2 separate regions of the Homo sapiens genome follow, and region 2 is linked to region 1. Evidence: promoter capture Hi-C in 16 types of primary human blood cells and fetal thymus (Javierre and others, 2016). All regions are on one chromosome and are shown on one strand. The core of a region is centred on a gene start or on the middle of the fragment in contact, and the rest is flanking DNA. Distances in the headings are between cores, read along the strand shown. Region 1 holds the start of DOCK4-AS1 (DOCK4 antisense RNA 1). Region 2 overlaps ZNF277 (zinc finger protein 277).

Region 1 (7,585 bases), core at 3,677-6,176:
ATATTTAGTAAGAATGTTAGTTCATCTAAAAATAGAAAGAAAAACTTAACCTTGAAGAAAGATAAAAGCCAACACTGGAACATTCTAGTAAAGACTAACCTTTTTCTCTGTTCTTGCAAGTAGGGGTACAGACGGGTAAAGTTTTGGGGGAAAATATATGCCTTCCTCTGCCACGGCTCTTGATAGAACATTTTTTAGTCCTTCAACTTAGAAAATGAAAACGCTGAGGAATACCATATTTAAGAAAAGGTGTTTACTTATCACTAGTTGGCTTTTATGCTCTAAAAATACATTATTTTACCAAAACTGCAAATGAGATACCACCTCACACCCATTAGGATGACTACTGTCAAAAAACCAGGAAATAACAAATGCTGGAGAGAAAATGGAGAAACTAGAATGTGTGTGTTCTGTTGGTGAGAATGTAAAATGTTACAGCAGCTGTGGAGAACAGTTCCTCAAAAAATTAACAATAGAATTCCCATATGATCCAGCAATTCCACTTCTGGCTATGTACCCAAAAGAACTGAAAGCCAGATTCTCAGAGATATTTTATATGCCCACGTTCAGAGCAGCACTATTCACAATAGACAAAAGGCAGAAGCAACCCAAATGTCCACTGAGGAATGAATGAATAAAGAAAATGTGGTATATCCATACGACAGAATATTATTCAGCCTTAAAAAGGAAAATTTTGATACATTACAACATGAATGAATCTTGAGGACAATCTGTTAAGCAAAATAAGCCAGTTACAAAAAGATAAATTCTGTATGATTCCACTTACGTGAGGTACCTAGAGTAGTTAAATTCATAGAGACAGAAAGTAGAATGGTAGTACCAGGGGCTGGGGAGACAGGGGAATGAGAAGTTATTGTTTATTGGGTATAGAGTTTCAGCTTCACAAGATGAAAAGAGTTCTAGAGATGGATGGTGGTGATGGTTGCATTGCAATGTGAATATACTTAATATCACTGAGCTGTGGCCTGAAAAATAGTTAGAATGCACATTTATTTATATTTATTTTTATTTTTTTTTTGAGACAGAGTCTCGCTCTGTCCCCCATGCTGGAGTGCAATGGCGCGATCTTGGCTCACTGCAACCTCTGCCTCCCAGATTCAAGCAATTCTCCTGCCTCTGCCTTCCAAGTAGCTAGGATTACAGGCATATGCCACCACACCCAGCTAATTTTTATATTTTTAGCAGAGACGGGGTTTCGTCATGTTTGCCAGGCTGGTCTCGAACTCCTGACCTCACGTGATCCACCCACCTCAGCCTCCCAAAATGCTGGGATTACAGGTGTCAGCCACTGCACCCAACCAAGATGTACATTTTATTTGTATTTTACCACAATTAAAAAATGTTTTAAAACTAAATTTTAATTATATGAGCAGGATGATGTGTTCAGTGCTCTGTATGCACTGGAGACAGGTAGCATGACTTAAAGTTCCAGGCAAGAGCTCAAAGCCTTTCTGTCCCCAGGATCTACTGCTGTCTCACAAGGGAAGAAGAGAAGCCCTGCCTTGTTGACCTGTGGAGGACTATTTGTTGTCTTTGGACAACAAAACCTTTTGATTTTATTTCTATGTTCCCAACCAGACCTCATAGAACTAGGGCTGAAGCATGAACTAGCAGAGCCACGGATTCATTCCTGTAGACATAAAAATGGGTGCTCATGGCCCTGCTTGCAAAAACTCCAAGACTGAGGCGACAGCAGAAGAGAAGTTAGAACTCGCTTCCTCCAGTTGTGTGAACTACAAATGTACTAAAGGATCCAAATATTTACTAATTCAGAACAAAGGTTAAACTTTCTTAATGTAAATAATCATTATAAAAGCACATTTAATACTACAGACAAGTTGTTATGTAATTTTAGAATTATAAAATATTTCAAGCACACACAACTAAATGTCTGTTAGATGATTTATGGTTAAAAATAACACTGTAAACATAAGCAGTTCTAGGTCTCATAGGGTTGAAAAATTGCTCACAGGTTGCTAAGGGATATAATGATCAGATTTTAAAATCCTACAGCTTTAAGTTTAAAAGCAGACAAGTCACTGAATTACATGTGTCTTTCCCCTCCGTGTCCTCAGTGGAATGGAAAAAAACAACATGTTTCTAGCATATGGAAGAATTTCAACACTTCAGAGGTAAACATCAATGACCAAATCTGATTTAAAAGTATTATCCAGCAAAATGTGTATTTCTAAATTAGACCAACTAGACAGTTTCAAGTGGAAAAAAGTATATTAAGTGGCCTTGGGCATTTCCTCCCTTCATCTTATTTTCTAAAAGTTAGTGCATTTTGTATCTATTAAAAATATTGAGGATCTTGATTTATGAAATCATAAAAGCTTACTAGCTTTACTAAAACATGATGATGTTGTCTTTGTCAAGCTTTGTCATAGTTCAAACTAAATTGGACAAAATTTTAAAATATAAGATTTGAAAACTAAGATTTTAATAGGTGTGGACCATTTTTTCTTATGTCCTCCAAAATACTTGCATATATCCAGTGCTTCATAAACTTAGTCAAATTGAATTTACTGGACTGTTACATTAAAACATGGCAAATTTATAATTACCTGAATAAATTCTCTTACAGCATTCAAATTCTCAACATGACATATTTATAAGTAAACCAAATGATAACTAATGTACTTTGATATTCCTAAGTAACAAGCTGACTTAAGGCCTATAAGGGGTATCAAAATGTCACTCTGAATACTTAATTATTCTTCTCCTCATTTTATAAAAATATATGTTGGAAGAGAGGCTTTAACATTTCTGAATTTTTTCCAATTCTAGCTATTGCACAACAGCAACAAACTTTAAAATTCACCTAATATTTGGGAAGTCTTTGCAAAGTCTAGACACAACTCTTGGGAAATAATGCAGCAACCAAGGAATGAAGTAAAAATTTACGCTGACCCTACGCTTGAACCACGTCATGCTGGGAATCTGTAAGTTGAGTATAAAGGAGGAGCCTTTTCTAACAGCGTCTTAGGATTGTGCTAGAGCTAAGTCTTTATGGCTGTAACAACAAAGAAAGAGGATAAACTAAAGCAGTGCTTTTCAGTTTTTAGCTAAGTACATAAGAATCACCTGGAAAACTTGCTAAAACAGACTGCTGTGCCCCAATCCCAGAGATTGTGTTTCAGTAGGTCTAAGGTGGAGTGAGAGATTTTGCATTTCTTACAAGCTTCCAAGGATGCTGATGCTACAGTATAACAAAATACTGCATTATAGGTATTGATATGCTCCAGAAATTTTCCATATTCTCTAGATCTCTGAGAAAAACAGAGAAGCAATTTAACATAAAAACCAGAGAGGCAGAAATAGTTTCATTTTAGAAGAAAGACAAAATACAGGATAAAAGTTTATGAAGTATACAGTGACATGTTTAGGGAGATTACATGTGACAGCTTTATTTAGCAGCCCAAGGGTCATGGGCCTAAATGCATAGCTATTATGGTTTGGATACAGGTTTATGTGGAAATAACCATAGATGGCAATGCTGAGATGTATCTAGAACAGAAACTGGTCATTCTTTTTTAACATTCTTGTAACCGAACAGAATCTGTCCTGCTCTCATAATTTGAGCCCAGAAAAGAGCTTACACAACCACAAGTGCATTCAAACAGATTCAATGCAGCATTCTTTCAAAAACATCTTGCTAAATTAATGTCGAATGCAATATGGACACTACAAGGGCCTTGATCTTCTTTAGGAAAAACAAGGACACAAAGAATCAATGAAACCTGAAAACACTGAAGACTAAGAAGAGCAGTCTCCAAATAAGAAAACTATTTTTGAGCTGCAACTAAAGACAGACCATGATATCTTCTGGCTGGCCTTACATAGTTGAAGGTTGTTTTCAAGATGATAACTCTTTTTTTTTTTTTTTTGAGTCAGAGTCTCACTCTGTCACCCAGGCTGATGGAGTGCAATGGAGCGATCTTGGTTCACTGCAACCTCCACCTCCCAGGTTCAAGTGATTCTCCTGCCTCAGCCTCCCAAGTAGCTGAGATTACAGGCACCCCCCCACCACGCCTGGCTAATTTTTGTATTTTTAGTAAAGACAGGGTTTCACCATGTTGGCCAGGCTAGTCTCAAACTCCTGACCTCAAGTGATCTGCCCGCTCCAGGCTCCCAAAGTGCTGGGATTACAGGCATGAGCCATTGCTCCCAGCTTCATTATTTTTTTTTATTTTTTATTTTTTCTGAAATCACCAGCAAGCATTGAACACTGGGCTTAATTATATATACCAAGGCTCCCTCAAGTTGTTATGTATATTTGAGGAATATACATACCCTATTAAAAAAAAATCACCCTGTAATGATCCTGGTCAAAAATCAGTCTGTTAACATGAGTGGAAGTAAAACAATAATGGTTCTATTTTCATTCACAGAAAATAAATCCTTCCAATCTCCAAGTTGTACTTGGATAAGCCCAAGAGAAAAGATATTTTCAGGTCATTACGTATTCAACTCAAATAGGTCAATCATTTTAATAAATCAAAGAGGAGCATTAAGATGCAGTAATAGTAAATGAATACTAAAAACCTGCATAGTTAACATACCAAATGAAATAACTTATAAATCTCTAGAAAGGGACCCTATGCCAATGAATTTTAAAACAATTTGTTTTCCAAATATTACTGTTTTCTATGCAACCAGATCTGTACCATCAATTTTCTGGAATAATATACTCTATCTGCTATAGCAGATTAACAAAATTGGATCCAACAGTTTCTTAGCAACTGCAGATGCTTTTAAAATCCTTTGGCTATACTCTTTATGATATAGGACAATGGTCTCAAGTTTTTAAGAGTAGTGACGTTCAAGTCAATGTTTCATGAAGTTTAACCTAAATTTATTATGATTCATAGCTTCAACTCAGAGTTCTAGAAATTTTGAGTTGTTACAGTTCCAAATTCTGAAAGGTTGCCTCATCGCTGGAAATATGTGTAATGTTGGAGCAATGCTAGATTATAAAATTTATCGTTAATTAATAATGAAACACACAAAGGTAAGGTGACTTTTCTTAGAGACCAATTTAAAGAATTTGTTGTAACCTCATTCAATGCCAAAGTGTCAATTACTTTCTATAGATGTTTATTGATTTAGACATTTGGTTTCACATGGTGTCACTGGTAAATTGCCTTTCTTCATTTGTACACTTCAAGGTACAGCGAGGAGCTGTATAGTAGATGTGGCTTCTCTTTTCCTCACTTACCTAGGTTTTGCCACATGCTGAAAATTTCACAACCCATTGTTACCCGCATGTCACCATACCTGAAATAGAACAAAAAACCAAACCTGATACAATGCCTCCAGAACAAGGAAGTATTTGTGTGTCTTTAGGATACAATCTATCATTCTGAATTACAAGGCAAGGAGTTTTTAATTAAAGACATTTAATATACATGTCACGATGCCTCTAAGTCAAATTCTGGTGTAAACCTTTTAGTAAAAGAGATCTGTTTCATAATTTTTTGCATCTATAGAAATTTTGAATCCTGAAAGAGCCAGGTCAAAACAATGTGCAAACATGTTTGAAATATCAAAACATCCAGAAAAGACTGCTTCTTGACCCCTTGGTCACTGGTTCTTCACTGTGTGATTTCCAGTTATGCGCATTCTGATTTATGAATCATTTGAACTAAATACTCTTTAAGAGGCAACATTTCTCACCTGATTATACACTGATACTTACTTTTCTAACACCTTTTTCTTCTTGGAAGGTGTGAACATCTCCAACTGCAGACACAACTGGTTTATAAAAATGACTGCGAGGTAAAAGTAGGAATCCCAGATCTAAAACAAGAACAAGATATATCAATACTATGGTGTTACAAGCATATTGACAGGTGAAGTGACATAGTATTTTGGATTTGCTTCAAAAGTGGTTGAGGGTATAGTTGAAGTAAGACTGACCATGAGTTGATAATAGTTGAAGCTGGATATGGGTACCTCATGGGGGTTCATTATACTATTCTCTCTACTTGTACATATGCTTAAAATTTTCTAAAGTGAAGAAGTAACTAAATAAATAAGTACTATTATTATCTAGGTGTATATTGCTCCAAAGCTGTATTCCAGGTTTCACGAGCTTTTTGGTATATGCTAAAAGACAGATGCGTGGTTTCTCTTGTAATATGTCTGAGTATCTCCAAGAGGATGAGGTATAAGATGGATTTCTTTATTCCTGTGTGAGTTCATTTTTGGAACTCCTTTTAACGTAGAACTTGTAAAAAATGCATACACTTCTTCAGATATGCTAATTGCTTTAAATTCAGACATTATATAAAAATTCCCTGCCCAGGCAAATCTTTTAAGTTTTCTTATACCAAAAAACAGAATCAGAAAGAGATCTGAATAAAGTTCCCTGAAATAAACTTAGCAAAAAAAAAAAAGGACATAATGGAAGGAACACACTTCTCCACTGACACCATGTAAAATTAAAGACATAACAAACCAGGAGACATATGACACAGAATCAGTATCTGTTATACGTAAATAGCTCTTACAAATAAAAAAGAATATAATAAAACCCTAAGTAAAATAATGAATAAAAGTCAAGAACAGTCCAGGTGCGGTGGCTCATGCCTGTAATCCCAGCACTTTGGGAGGCCGAGGCGGGTGGATCACAAGGTCAGGAGTTCGAGACCAGCCTGGCCAATATGGTGAAACCCCGTCTATCCTAAGAATACAAAAATTAGCCAGGTGTGGTGGTGCGCTCCTGTGGTCCCAGCTACTCAGTAGGCTGAGGCAGAAGAATTGCTTCAACCTGGGGGGCAGAGGTTGCAGTGAGCCGAGATTGCGCCACTGCACTCCAGACTGGGCGACAGAGGGAGATTCTGTCTCAAAACAAAAAAAAGAAAAAAAAAAGTCAAGAATAGACAATTCACAAAAATATGAATTTTGATCAATAACTAGTAACTAGTCAATAAGTAATAATTAGTGAGAAATGTAAATTAAAGCAAACAGGATTTTTCTCTTTATCTGTCAGAAAAAAAATCTCTTCTAATGTTGGTGTAGCTGCAGGAAAAGAAGCAATCAAATGTAATTGGTACAACCTTTCACTCAACAATTCCACTAATAAATATTTATCCAAAGAAATAATTAAGGGCCAGGCGCGGTGACTCATGCCTGTAATCCCAACACTTTGGGAGGCTGAGGCAGGCAGATTACCTGAGGTCAGGAGTTCAAGGCCAGCCTGGCGAACATGGCAAAACCCCATACTACTACTAAAAATAAAAAAAAAATTAGCCAGGCATGGTGGTGTGTGCCTGTAATCCCAGCTATTCTAGAGGCTGAGGCAAGAGAATCGCTTGAACCTGGGAGGCGGAGGTGGCAGTGAGCCGAGACTGCGTCACTGCATTCCAGCCTGGGCAACAGAGCAGGACTCTGTCTCAAAAACAAAACAAAACAAAACAAAACCAGAAACAAAAAAAGAACCAAAGAAATAATTAGGGATATATGCCAAGTTTTATTTTACAAGAATGTACATAAAATGAGTAATTTATAAGAATGAAATATGAAATTTTGATATACTATAAGCTATGACATAGACAAA
Region 2 (7,585 bases), core at 3,599-6,098, 480 kb after region 1:
ATGGGGGTAACACCAGCCCTCATGGTTATTGAATATTACATAAAACAAAGTATGGAATGTGAGGGCGATCTGGCTGTGACATCTGTCACCCCATTAATCGCCAGGGTTGATTCGGCTGATCTGGCTGGCTAAGTGGCTGTCCCCTTCCTCCCTCACCACTCCATGTTCATGCCTCCCAAAGCTGTGTTCTCAGTCAAAGAGGACAACCATCTCCACTAGAAGAGGACCAGTCTTTGGTCAAGGGTATACGAGTAGCTGCGCTTCCCTGCTGGAACCTCCAGACAAGCTCTCAAGTCCATTTGTAGGAGAACATAGGGTAGTCAAGCTTCCAAGATTCCAGACACATCCAAATGAAGTGCTGCATGTGGCAGTCTGCCTTTCTTAAAAAAAAAAAAAAAAAAAAAAAAAAAAGAAGAGTATGTGTAGCATCTGCTAGTGCCTGAGACATGTGTACCTGATAAATGGTAGATAAAATGCAAAATTTTATTTGTATTTTTATCACCGAAGGTATATTTGAAATCTTAGTTTTCTGCAGCTATCGTTTGAGTTTTCCATTTGTATTTATGCTAATCTAAAAACCTAATTATCATTTGTAAAATATAGCTTTTGAGAAAATTTCATTCAAGTTTCTAAATAATCTAAATTTTTGGAAAGATAGTTTAAGTTGGAATAGCCAGCATACCCACAGGGGTAATGATAACTATTCTCTAGCCTTCATCTCTGTCCTTATTGCCTAGCACCAATACTGAATATTTACCATGTGCCTTCTGTGTATGTTGCCTTATATCGACTCAGCACTACTATTTTTCAAGAGATTTTGGTGCTGCCTTATCAGGTCTCAGAGATAGGAGGACAGTTAATTGAATGATATATATTGCCAACTGCTAAAATAAACTAATTCCCTACATGCTCTCATAGGACATACTCTCTGCTCCTCATTATCATTTGTTATTCTTTATTCTCATTAAAATATATGTGTGTGTATGTCTTTATTCTCAGAGTATTCTGGGAGCTTTCTTATATGCAACCCAGTTATATGTGGTGAGATCTGTTGATTTTGTTTCAGACACTTCTTAGGCTAGAGATCTTCTAATTCATACTCAACCATTGAAAGAAATACTACATAGGTTATTCTTTCCTAAGGCTTCTATTAGTCAGCTTTTCTTTAATATGAAACCTTTATTTTTCTTTTTGAGTCCTGGCTGGAGTGCAGTGGCACGACCTTGGCTCAGTACAACCTCCACCTCCCTGGCTCAAGCAATCCTTCCACCTCAGCCTCCCCAAGTAGCTGGGACTACAGGCATGCACCACTACGCCTGGCTAATTTTTTTTTTTTCTTATACTTTAAGTTTTAGGGTACATGTGCACATTGTGCAGGTTAGTTACACACGTATACATGTGCCATGCTGGTGCGCTGCACCTAATTTTTTATGTTTTTAAATTTTTATGGTTTCACCATGTTGCCCAGGCTGGTCTAGAACTCCTGGGCTCAAGCAATCCACCCACCTCGGCCTCCTGAAGTGTTGGGATTACAGGTGTGAGCCACCGTGCCTAGCCATGAAACTGTTCTTTTATTCCCTTTTATCATATAAACACAAATTTTCCTTCAGGAATTGCAGAAGAACAGTATTAACTACCAGTGATAATTGAATAGTTTAAGATTTTTCTTTCTCCTCTGCCCGTAAAGTATGTGAGGAATGTCTGAATCAGAGTTTGTATTCTCCTTTGTGCTTATGTGTCATAGTTAAGTAGCTATATTTGTACTAATCAATCTCTCTATTTGTATCATTGTTATTAATCTCATTATCCTAATATGCATACGTGGGCAGAAAAATTGAATTATTTACTAGGTCTCGGGACTTAGGAGTCAGTAATTAAATGCTGGGATTATTCATGCTCTAAATGCAGATATACAATAAAATGGATGCTTTAATTAAAAAGAAAAGGATGCATATCTGATATAAGTGCTTTCTAAAGTGTATCTTTAACATGTATTTGAAATATGGAAACCTAGATTTTCCTTGTCAACTGTCCTTCTAATTAAGTAAAATTTTCACTCTCAGCAAGTATAAATGTGATTAATTCTGATTGATCAGGCATGTATCTGAGTAAACTCTGTTGCTTTTAAATACCTTTGACTGTATCCAGTCTTCTTTAGATAATAACCTCCTACTACTTAAGGAAACTAAAAATTCCTCTCCCAAACAATCCAGGTATTGATTGTTATGATCAAAGTTAAGTTGGAATCTTTTCAACATCATGTAACTTGTTTCTAATTTTAGAAGACAAGGTATAAGGTGTAGGGTTGGGAGGAGGGAACATGAGAGATTTATTTGGCATGAACACATTCACTCAGAACTCAAGAGGAATTGTTGCTTCTGAGTACAATAGATAATGAAGATGATAATAAATAAGAGATGGACTTACCTTGTGGTTTACAAGAAGTAAGCTATAAGTTTTCATACTAAATATATAATTTTTTATGAAACAAAATAACACTAAAACTTCCTGGGGCAGGAGAAATAAAAACAAAAATAAAAATCTTTCCATTGAGTCCATTTAACATAGTTATTTATACTGAGCTATTTGCTAGCTTTATTCAGTAGATAAAATTGCTCTGGAAAATAAATGTTAACTTCTTATTTCTTACCCTTTTCTATATTAAATTCCACACATTCACTGCTACTTAATTAACAACCATATTTCAAACCTTTATGACTATGTCAATAACCATACCAATTACAGTGAGGGTGGGCAGGCAAGATATTGCAACAAGGATTTTTTGTGAGACAATTCTGTGAGACATGATTTGAAGTTCCTTTGGAAGAAAAAAAGTATTTGCTGATGACCTAGTAATTACTTTTATAGATTTTTAATGAAGTATGAAATACTTTGATAACTCATCCAAATAGAGTTCCTACCACATGTTATTTCTTAGTGGCCTTTATATATTGAGTAGCTGCAATTGTAGCTTTCAGTAAACTAGAGAAGTAGGAAAAATACAGAAGAGAAGTACTAAATGAGCTCTTAAATTTGAACAGTGTTCTAGTGAGTGGGAAAAAATGCCACAAGAAGCATGTACTGAAGATCTGCTATCTTTATTCTATCACTCAGTTGATTACAATTTATCTGAATGCCCATACCATCCGAAAGGAAATGTATATATTGACACCTCTTAATTATAAGCTTAAAAACCACTATTATGTGTTTAATAACTAGGATGTTTCTTTACTCAAATTTAGACATAGGTCAAATGTATGTTGTTGTTGTTGTCTATAGTATACCACAGTAAGATATGATGCCTAATTTTATATGTTTAAGTTGTATGATGGTTTATGGTTATATTTTGCTTTGTAACAGATGATTTTTTTTTCTTTGATGTTGTTGTCACCCAAGTTTTGGTTAGGAAGAGAACACTCAAATGACAACTTTGTTCCTCTTGGACCAACCTATTACCTGCTTTATCCCATGGGAAACACTTCCTATTTGAGGAGGGCAACCGAGGTTCTGCCAGGCAGAATCTCCCCATGATTCTAAGTTAATTGATGTCAGTAATTTCTTCCCATGTGCATATCACCTTGAAGTAAACTCTGATGGAAAGTAAGCATGTCATGTGATTCTTCTCTTCAGACATCAAAGAGACAGTACTCAAACATAGAAGTTTTTGGAAACTGAGACCCACTGACTATTGGAATCAGGCTCCTGTTACCTCTGTAGTGGAACTTCTCTGCACCCTTTCCTTGCCTAGTTAAGCAGTTCCAAAACAGCCCCAAACAGTTGGTGTCAATTTTCAGCCCTTAGGTAGCAACTTAGGAGCAGTTCAGACTGAGGGCTACTGTTAAGTAGTATGCCTTTCGGAAGGGGAAAACATTCTCTTCCTCTTCAGACTTCATTTCTGTACTTCTGGTTCTGCCTTGTCAAAAAGCATTCTATGTGACCTCATTGGTCTCTGAGGGGAAAAAAATGCTTCAACTCTCTATTACAACTTTAATTATAGGGGCTCTTTCCTGTCCCTGCCTTCCCTTTTCTGCATTTCTTGTACCGATTCGTCCCCACATGACACTAGAGGAACTGTGTTGTAGAAGATTGAGTTTGGCCTTGGAGCCAGAGAGACAAAGTTCACATCTCAATTCTAACATTTTAATTGACCTTGGGCAAGTAAGGACTCATTAAATGGTAGCTGCTAATAATTGTCATTATTGTCACTATCATCATTCTTCTCTTCTACCACTTTAGCCACCTATATGTGCCCTCTGACGCTATTAATATAACTATTTTGTCTTTTTCATCAAATGTTTGCTGAAATGTTGTTGTTGTTTTTGTTGTGTGTCTCATTATTTCCCTGGGATAAATATAAATTATTCACTACCTTAGTCTTATTTAAATATGTTACTTTTTCTTATAGTAATAACTGTCATATATATTAAACACCCAGAATTTTGGACAGCGTGCTTTACATGCATTATTCTATTTAATTATCAACAATTTATTTTGCACATGAATAAACTGAGTTTCAGAAAGATTAAATAACTTTAAGTTCAGGTTCATACCTTTGAATTCAAAGTCCTTGCTTCTCTATTCACCATTGCCTCCGGGGTGGTAATTAATACATTAACTATGATACTTTGACCACTGTCTTAATTTAAAAAGCAAAACTGCTTCTAGCATAAGATCTGTGCAGATAAGCAAGGGACAATATTGATTGTCCATTTAAAAAAAAGTCATTGGCCAGGCACAGTGGCTCTCACCTGTAATCCCAGCACTTTGGGAGTCCAAGACGGGCAGATTGCTTGAGCTCACAAGTTCAAGACTAGCCTGGGCAACATGGCAAAACCCCATCTCTACAAAAAAAATAGGAAAATTAGTTGGGCATGGTGGTGCGTGCCTATAGTCCCAGCTACTCGGGAGGCTGAGGTGGGGAGGATGTCTTCAGCCCAGGAGGCAGAGGTTGCAGAGAGCTGAGATCACTCCACTGCACTCCAGCCTGGGCAATAGAGCCAGATCTTATCTCAAAAAAAAAAAAAAAAAGTCATTAATAATTCAAAGAGCAGTCTGTTCACGAGGATCCAAGCTCTTGCCTGGTCATCTGTTCCACATGGTTTCACACAGATACTTTTCTAAGACTGTGAACATTTTCCAAAGTAAAGTAGTCTGTGTATTCAAGGAGTTATCACTGCCTTTCAACAGGCTCTAGACCCAAAATGGAACTAATTATATAGGGCTGACCACTAGTCTCCGTTTTGTCTAGAGGATACCATCCAGATAGTCCTCAATGGAGTGGCAACCAGGACTGACGATCCACTCCTTGGTGTATTCTAGCAGTAGCAGTAGGGAACCTCCAGAGGGAACTTGGCCTTCCTGTCTTTTGAAGTCAGTTATCTTAGCACCTGGTTCTGCCATGTATAAATTTGATTAATCATGAAAATAGATGTCTATATTTCAATTTAGAGGAATAATCCATCTTCTGTTCTAACATCTCTAATACAGGTTCTACTGTGTTCCTTCATCCCTGTCACCACTTTGTAATAGAAAATGTGCTTGGGGGAGAATAAGAAAAGGACTAGGAATGTCATTTTTATTCTCTTAAGCCTCCTCTTGTCTTCTCTTTCCCCTTTTTTCCTCTCTACCATGGGGTGGTGGGGAAAGCAACTAGTGAGGAATGGAAAGATAGAGACTAGGAGTAGCCATGTAGGAGACTGAGGAGTACAACGTGTTGAAGCTGGCCCAGGATGGCTAAGGAAATAATGTCCCAGCCTTTTGTAGGTACTTTTTCTCTATTTATCTGCTGTGATGGATCCAATATGCACTTGCCTTCTTCTGAGATTTCTAATATGGAAGCCAGTGAGTTAGCCAAGGAGTAGGGTGCATCATTTATATATTTGTGGTTTAAGGCTCAATGGGAGCTTAAGATTGCCATTTTAAGATCTCCTAGAATACAAGTTAGCACTGTTTTATAAGGAAAGGGTTCTCCCCTTACTTACCCATCAAAGTTAACAGTGTGGTTGTACAGGAGAAGAAAAACTTAAACATGGGATTCTATTTTTATACACTATTCATTGGCTTCTTTTTCTTACATATTCTATATTCATTCAGTGTATTTTTATTTGATGTCAGCTCGTGTCATGTTTATCTCTTTCTCCCAGACCTCTCTCCAGCACAGACTTCTAATACACAAATGCCCTTTCCATAGAGCACCATGGTATTGGAAAATTAATGTTAAGAAAAAAATTAATAATAAAAAGGAGACAAAATATTGGGAATTGGGGACTACTTAGAGAACTTTACAGGAATCTTCAAATTCTCTACTTCTTTAAAACATTTACTGTGGACCTAATATATCCAAAACATTCCTAGATGTGCTAAGTCAAGCCATTTAAAATGTCCAAATTTCTACTCTTTCTATATTCTTCATCTATTTCAATAAGTCCCATTTCTTTTTTTGGTTCTTTGGTGTAAGTTACTTGTTTTGTCCCTCAGTTGTGTGGCCTGATAAATTGGGAGCTATAGAATCAAGCTTTCCTTTTCCTCTCTCTATGAAGATAACACTCTCTTCTTGGTACCATTCAATAAATGAGATTGCAGTTGCCAATATAAATCTTGTTAGATAAATGGAAAGATAAACCACTTGTTAAATCCTGTCATCTTACTCCCTCTTTCATCACATATGTAGGTCTGGGTGTTAGGCTTTGGTTTTTAATTTAGCTGGTGTGTTGCTTCTAACTCTGCTCATTAGATACAAGAATTGTAAGTTAGGCTATTTTTCCAAAGTCTAAATTTGCCTCATTTCAGACTCAGTGTAGACATATGGAATTTTTCTGTCTTGTTATATTGATATTGAATTTAGACTGATTTCTCATTGCATTATTCTTCTGACCTCTGTTCTTTTGATACATAAGATAACCACTTAGTTTTCTCTTTACTGCAGAGTGTGTCATAGCCTATTTAATCGTTATTGTATTTTAAAGACACATAAACTTAGGTGTTATTTCAGAAAAATTCATTATCACATAAAAATAATTCATTTTAACTTTCCTATATGTCTGTTTATTGAATTTGGGGATAGTAGAGTTTAGTCATTTTCATGCCCTTACATGGTAATTCCTTTTTATTAAATCTTTATTTGATACTTCTATAATGCTCCACTGCCTTTGTATTCACAAAAAACTGCTAGAAAAGCAGTTTTAAGTTAACATTTGATTTGTTGCTTTGGGATGAGTGAATGTGCTTATAGATTCCTGTCATTCTAAAGCAAATAGTATATTGAATCTTCTCATCGTTCCTTATTTTATGTTGTTCTAAGGTACATTTTATATTGGAGGAAAAGGTTCACTGAACAGCCCATCACAGATTTTTGTAGTGTAATAAGAATTAATTCCACTGCTCCATTTGGTAAGTGTACATCTTGGCTACCATCTTTTCCCTACAGTATAAAAATTCAAAGGAATAATCTTACTGTCTTATATTAGAATTACTTTTACTTTCATGATAGATAAAATTAAATTGATGTGTTTATTTTGCCTAACTTGAATAAAGCTAAAACAGTTCTATGCCAAAGAGATCCTAATAGACACACACATCTGTATTT

Evidence for each region. Contacts are between HindIII fragments. The CHiCAGO score rates a contact against its expected background, and 5 or more counts as called.
Region 2: a contact is called between a fragment that was not itself captured here and the fragment with the promoter of DOCK4-AS1 in region 1, in 1 of 17 cell types (M0 macrophages). The highest score is 5.4, in M0 macrophages.

Annotation. Positions count from the first base shown.
Region 1 is chr7:111,803,579-111,811,163 of GRCh38, forward strand. DOCK4-AS1 (DOCK4 antisense RNA 1) reads left to right here and starts at 4,927. Exons shown (of 2, transcript NR_103806.1): 1 at 4,927-5,035. It overlaps DOCK4 (dedicator of cytokinesis 4), which reads right to left. Exons shown (of 53, transcript NM_001363540.2): 29 at 5,723-5,823; 30 at 5,243-5,301. The HindIII fragment of the contact is 9,376 bases long and covers 3,204-7,585 here.
Region 2 is chr7:112,288,569-112,296,153 of GRCh38, forward strand. ZNF277 (zinc finger protein 277) reads left to right here. Exons shown (of 12, transcript NM_021994.3): 3 at 7,301-7,389. It also overlaps the pseudogene RN7SKP187. Among named protein-coding and RNA genes, the nearest start is that of ZNF277-AS1, 58 kb to the right of the region's middle. The HindIII fragment of the contact is 3,328 bases long and covers 3,185-6,512 here.